Regions from separate parts of the Homo sapiens genome. Here region 2 is linked to region 1. Evidence: promoter capture Hi-C in 16 types of primary human blood cells and fetal thymus (Javierre and others, 2016). All regions are on one chromosome and are shown on one strand. Each heading gives the region's core, a stretch centred on a gene start or on the middle of the fragment in contact. The rest is flanking DNA. Distances are from core to core; before and after follow the strand shown.

Region 1 (3,236 bases), core at 737-3,236:
AGTTATCACCAATCTACGGGATCCTTACACTACTGATATTTTCAATAATGCACCGTAGTCAGACATTGTAGACTTAACCTCTGAGCTGCTCACAAAATTACTAAATCATTCTGAAATACGTAACTGCAAATTCTGGGCTTTAAAGTCTCTAGTTAAATGGGTGATTTTGAAAATTGGTGGCTGTTCAGACATTTTCAAATGAGAATAGAATGCATTTGTTTCAGACTGATAAACTGCAGAAGGTTAGATAACACCAAACACATTTGAGTTTCTCCTAAGAAAATGACTTGGGCCTCCAGATTACATCTCATTTTTTTTTTTTTTACCCTATCAAGTTTGTTTTTCCATATGAAATGTCTTTCCCAACTACACCTGCCCTTGGAGACTGTGAATAACAGACTTAAAGGAAGTATCCTTTCCAGATGAGCTGAAGAATGTCATCCTCTTAAAAGAATGAACAGCTGGTCATGTAGAAATTCTCTGGAATGCTCACTTGTCCTACAAAGGCAGGGGAGCAGAAAACATGTAGTTTTTTTGTTATTGGTATACATAATTGTAAATCTTCGAGATAATTTTACTAGAAGTCCACATAATTTTAATAATTGCCTTTCTCCTGAAAAGATTGCTAATAAATTAACAATGTGAAGGCTAGAAAGCTGGCCAAGCATAATCCGGTGGGACTCAGGATTGCTGGCTGGATTGTCCCGTTTGATCAGACATTGTTTCTTAGATGAATATTCAGGACGCCCTCGTGTATAAAAGTTGTCCTTTGTTCTGACTACCTTGGTATTAAGTTCGAATTTCTTACCATGACACACAAAGGATTCGATTCTTGCTTAGCTCTCTAAGCTCCTCTCACTTTCTCTTCCCCTCTTGAATTCTTTGCTCTTGCCACACAACTAGCAGATGAACTAATCTATCTGTTCCAACGTGGGCACAGTAGCAGCCGTAACTCTTACCTTGGCCCACTCTGACTTGTCCAGCCCTGGTTGAATTCTTCGTATCCCCGTGAGGGTCCGCACGTAGTTGGGGCTGTTTACTAAACGGATGAACTTCCCTACCGGGAGGCTAGGTCTCGGTTATGCCTTACTTCCCAGGAAGCGGCTTCTATAGGCATTGTTTAAATGTAGGAGTAGGAGGGAGCTGGGGGTATTGCATTCCCCAGGTCACAGATAAATGAGATTCCAAAACCAAGATCTGGCTAGGCCTTGGAAAGAGGGACCTGCGAGGCCGACCAGACGTTTGGAACTGCGCCTTGCAGTGTGGGATCTCAGCACCGGATATTACCCCGGTTTGTAGAGAGTTGAGTTACTGTTTTAAGAGACGTTGCAAACCGTACGGGTCAAGAAGAAAGCCGAAGACGGGTTAGCGCCTGCGGTCGGGGTCGAGAAAAGCAGGCGAGATGCGACCTGACGTGGGTCCGCCTCTCTCCACCCGTGGCAAGCCCGACAGTCGCACTATTGCTTTAACAATCGCCCTCTTTCCAAGAAGAGCTACTTAGTGACCGTGAGCGAATATGCGTGGGAAGACACGATGTCCTCTCGGCCTCTGTGCGCTCAGTTGTTTACCTAGGCGTCCGGGGGAGGCACACTCGCGGGACTCGCGGGACTCGGCCCCGGCCTCCCAGCTCGCCCAGGACACGACGCTGGTTCTGCGGGCTCTCGGAGCCCAGCGCGAATCCCCCGGGCTAATTCCCAAGAACCGAGAGGCAGCACTGCCTGGAGGCTGCCCCCGCCTCCGCGCCCCCGTCCTCACTTTCTGAGGCTGTTAGCAGAGAGTCCCGCGGGCCGGGGAGAAGCGGGACGCGGGGGATGGCCTCGCAGCGCCCTGTGAGCGTCGGCAGTAGTCAGGCAGCCAGGGCTCCTTGGGCGATCGCCCTGGGTAGAGGAGAGGAGTTTCCGGGGCTCGGGTCCGGGTCGCCTTCCAGGGGAACGAGCGCGGAAGCAAGTGGGCGGCGAGAGGCGGAGCAAGAGACGCTGGAGGGCGTGGACGCAGCGGGCTTTGGAAAGGCCCCAAGTTAATGAGGCGTGCGCCGGCTGCCGAGCGCCTCTTGGAGCTGGGCTTTCCCCCGCGGTGCGGGCGCCAGGAGCCGCCTTTTCCGCTGGGTGTCACTCGGGGGTGGGGAAGATGGCCCATTCAAAAGCGCCGCGAGGGGGCCCGGCCAGTGCCCTTCAGTGAGCGCTCGCAAGAGGACGGCAGAGGCCCGGCAGCTCGGAGCTCCGGGACCTTGTGGCGCATCAGGACGCGGCTGTCCCTCTGCCGGGACCCAGAGCCGCCGCCGCCGCTCTGCCTCCTGCGTGTTAGCCTCCTCTGCGCGCTCCGGGCAGGCGGCCGTGGGAGCCGCTGGGGCGAGGACGGCGCGAGGCTGCTGCTGCTGCCCCCGGCCCGCGCGGCTGGAAACGGAGAGGCCGAGCCAAGCGGCGGCCCCTCTTATGCTGGGAGGATGCTGGAGAGTAGCGGCTGCAAAGCGCTGAAGGAGGGCGTGCTGGAGAAGCGCAGCGACGGGTTGTTGCAGCTCTGGAAGAAAAAGTGTTGCATCCTCACCGAGGAAGGGCTGCTGCTTATCCCGCCCAAGCAGCTGCAACACCAGCAGCAGCAGCAGCAACAGCAGCAGCAGCAGCAGCAACAACAGCCCGGGCAGGGGCCGGCCGAGCCGTCCCAACCCAGTGGCCCCGCTGTCGCCAGCCTCGAGCCGCCGGTCAAGCTCAAGGAACTGCACTTCTCCAACATGAAGACCGTGGACTGTGTGGAGCGCAAGGGCAAGTACATGTACTTCACTGTGGTGATGGCAGAGGGCAAGGAGATCGACTTTCGGTGCCCGCAAGACCAGGGCTGGAACGCCGAGATCACGCTGCAGATGGTGCAGTACAAGAATCGTCAGGCCATCCTGGCGGTCAAATCCACGCGGCAGAAGCAGCAGCACCTGGTCCAGCAGCAGCCCCCCTCGCAGCCGCAGCCGCAGCCGCAGCTCCAGCCCCAACCCCAGCCTCAGCCTCAGCCGCAACCCCAGCCCCAATCACAACCCCAGCCTCAGCCCCAACCCAAGCCTCAGCCCCAGCAGCTCCACCCGTATCCGCATCCACATCCACATCCACACTCTCATCCTCACTCGCACCCACACCCTCACCCGCACCCGCATCCGCACCAAATACCGCACCCACACCCACAGCCGCACTCGCAGCCGCACGGGCACCGGCTTCTCCGCAGCACCTCCAACTCTGCCTGAAAGGGGCAGC
Region 2 (3,420 bases), core at 497-2,996, 520 kb before region 1:
AGACCCGCCTGGCCAACATGGTGAAACCCCGTCTCTACTAAAAATACAAAAAAATTAGCTGGGCGTGGCAGTGTGTGCCTGTAATCCCAGCTACTTGGGAGGCTGAGGCAGGAGAATCGCATGAACCCAGGAGACAGAGATTGCAACGAGCCAAGATCATGCCATTGCACTCCAGCCTGGGCGATAGAGCAAGACTCAGTCTCAAAAAACACCAAAAAAACAAAAAGCCTCTGAGAAATATACAATTTTTAGTGAAGGTGGCTGGGTACAAGGAGATTAGTAGAAGTGCTTGACTGGAGCAGTTGTGGCCAAAGTATAGCTTCCTTGTGATGAGACACAGGAAGAGATGTCTAGACTCATGTTGTGTGCATATTTCATGGCAGTATGTGGGAAACCCCTGAGAGATTTTAGATCTTTCTTCCCACCTTGGTCCCCATCCCTCACATATCCTCACAAAGTCATAAAATTCTCATGTGGAAGGCGTGATAGAAGGAATTTTTCTTCCTGAAAAGTGTTATCAAGCTTGCAAGGGAGAGAGCTATTTTCGGAGACCTTATAGGGAAGAAATCCTAGTCCTAGAGCATCATATTCTTATACCCTGTTATTTTTACCTTTGTCGAAGATCCAGATAATGTAAATTCTCCATGATAGCAAGGACCTTGTCTGTTTTGCTCACCATTGAATCTCCAAATGTTCAATAGTTAATGAATGAAAAAAGTCTACTTCCAGATATATGACTGGAGAACAAAAGGAGTATCTGATAATGTAGTCCAAACTAAATGCAAGCAGCGAAATGATAAAGGAAGGATGTTAGCTTGGGAGAAGGGGAACAGGTCATTTAATCTGGGAAACTTTCTTGGAGGAGGTGATTCTTGAGTTAGGTTTTGGTGTGGGCTGTGTGTCTGAAGATAAGCAGTGTCTAAGGGGGTAGACAACGTGCAGCAAAGCATTTAAGTCAGACTGAATAAATTATGTCAGATAAAGCACAGTAAGTCTTTTTTTGTAACATTATGAAGAATTTTTATTCTCCCATCTCTATTTTCACCTCTCCCTAAATAAAAAGATTAACTTGCTTTGCAACAGCAGAGATTGACAGTACTTGAGTTTTGGAAGTACGATAAGGGTCAGAAAATTTGAATTGGTGTTCTGACTGAATCTTATACAAGCGTCGTTTCCATCGGCCAATCACTTGGTCTTAGTTTTCTCATTTGTAAAATCAGGATAATAATCCATGATCGTTGGGAGAACAAAGTTATATAATGCATGTGAAAGTGCATACCTCAATATGAATGTGCCTACCTCAATGTGTCACACATAGGAGGACTTCAGCAAATACAAAATTATTAAAACGTTTGTCTGCAGATCTTTAAAACATATTTTGATTCGTTTATCATGAACTCTAATATTTGCTTGACTCATCTAGATGACTCATGGCATTATGTTTAAATTGATCAGAATCAAAATTCTAGATAATTTTCTTTCAGTCAGTTTAATGTTTTCTGGTAGAAATGAGGCCTAATTGTATTACTGCTTAATGTTACAGACCACAAGGAGTGCTAGAAGCCTCAAATTTTTGAAGCTCAAAGTAAGGGATATGTGTAGCTGAAAATCTGAGCCTTTAAGCTTTTTTTCTCTACGTAATTTGTTTTTGAAGAAATTGTCTTTGCCTGTAATGTCATTTATCTATTCATTGTTGTGATGAAATAAGGGGTTTTCTGGTTGTTAAGAAAAAATTTACCAAAAATATTTTCTGTTTTTAGTGATGTGACTATAAGCCATGAAGATCTCTACCATCTGTGTTTTATTATAAAATTCAGTATTTCTTGAGCAAACAAACAGACATCTGCATTATTTCTTATCTAAGCTTTTTGTGCCAGTAGCTGTTCATTTATGAATCTCAGAATTTCATTATACTTTGTGAACTCTTTGTAGTGTTTTTGATCCATGGAGCAGTCTGTCCTTTGTATAATATTTGGAAGAGAATTTTATTATAAAAAGACTAAGAAGAGTCTTGAGCCTTTTTATTATACAAAGACTAAGAAGAGTCATCAAATGATAAGCCAGTTACCTACTAATTTCCATATTCAAAAAGGACTGAAAAAAAGAGGAAATGGTTTCAGAGCTTGACTTTTTTCAAATAAAAAGGAGAAGCTTTTTGATTTAGAGTTTTTGAAAACTTGATAGATTCAGAGGGAAATTGTTATAGGTCATATTAATAGCTAATGTGCGTCAACTGCTATATACCAGGTACTGTACTACTCTAGAAGTACTTGACATGTCATCACATTTGATCCTGACAACCACCCCGCAATCAGGCTATTTTCTTTTTTTTAAACCTGAGCAACTGACAGATTAAATAAGTGGTGGAGCCAGGATTTGAACTAAACCTGAGGCACAGAGAAGTTAAGTAGTAGGTGGTAGAGCCTACTAAAAGGATTTAAACTTGAGGTTTAACCTGACCTTTGACTTTGGAGCCTATCCTTTTAACCATCATATTATATACTGCCTTGTATAATTTATTTGCAGTTGCTCCTCTTGATACGTCTTGACCTTGTGATCTTCCTGAGTCTGTTTTAGTTGTGTCATTTACAAAATGCACTTTACTTTATAAGAAGATGGAATATAGCCTTGATTTTTTTTCTCTCATTTTACTTGTATTTGACTGACATCCTATTTTTAAATCTTAAAAATACTTAGAGTAAAGCAAATATTTATTTTATTGTTCATCCAGTTGCCATTTTCTCACTGGGGAATTTCAGAGAATTTCGGAGTAACTGGAAATTAAAGAACATAATAGATAACAGTATTTAAAGCTAAGTTGTTATAATTAAAAAATAGTTTTAAAGAATAAGGCTGATTCACAGAATTGGTATGCATTTTTTTTTAGTGTTTTTTTTTTTTTTTTTTTGAGATAGAGTCTCACTGTGTCACCTAGGCTGGAGTGCAGTAGTGTGATCTTGGCTCACTGCAACCTCTGCCTCCCGGTTTCAAGTGATTCTCATGCCTGAGCCTCCTGAGTAGCTGGGATTACGGGTGCATGCCACCATGCCCAGCTAATTTTTTGTATTTTTAGTAGAGATGGGGTTTCACCATATTGGCCAGGCTGTTCTCGAACTCCTGACGTAAAGTGATCCACCTGCCTCGTCCTCCCAAAGTGTTGAGATTACAGGCGTGAGCTACCTCCTCTGGCCTTTTTTTTTTTTCTTCTGATACAGGGTCTTGAGCTGTCACCTAGGCTGGAGTGCAGTGGCACTCACTACCATGGCTCACTGCAGCCTCGACCTCCCAGGCTCAAGTGATCCTCCTGTCTCTGCCTCCCAAGTAGCTGGGACTACAGGCGAATACCATCACACCTGGCTAATTTTTAAGTTTTTTTTTTTTTTTTTAGAAACAGAGTCTCACTATGTTGCCCAGCTTGGT

What was found. Contacts are between HindIII fragments. The CHiCAGO score rates a contact against its expected background, and 5 or more counts as called.
Region 2: a fragment that was not itself captured here is called in contact with the fragment with the promoter of PHLDA1 in region 1 in 1 of 17 cell types (total CD8 T cells); the score reaches 6.1 in total CD8 T cells.

The regions. Positions count from the first base shown.
Region 1 is chr12:76,030,526-76,033,761 of GRCh38, reverse strand. It overlaps PHLDA1 (pleckstrin homology like domain family A member 1), which reads left to right and starts at 1,986. Exons shown (of 2, transcript NM_007350.3): 1 at 1,986-3,236. The coding sequence starts at 2,021. The coding sequence ends at 3,226. PHLDA1-AS1 (PHLDA1 antisense RNA 1) reads right to left here. Exons shown (of 2, transcript NR_186034.1): 1 at 3,168-3,236; 2 at 2,384-2,851. It overlaps PHLDA1-DT (PHLDA1 divergent transcript), which reads right to left and starts at 1,949. Exons shown (of 2, transcript NR_185978.1): 1 at 960-1,949; 2 at 1-498. RefSeq lists an enhancer at 1,831-2,080 and a silencer at 2,301-2,450. The HindIII fragment of the contact is 8,299 bases long and covers 1-3,236 here.
Region 2 is chr12:76,553,465-76,556,884 of GRCh38, reverse strand. The region is part of intron 1 of OSBPL8 (oxysterol binding protein like 8); the gene reads left to right. Among named protein-coding and RNA genes, the nearest start is that of OSBPL8, 4.6 kb to the left of the region's middle. The HindIII fragment of the contact is 241 bases long and covers 1,626-1,866 here.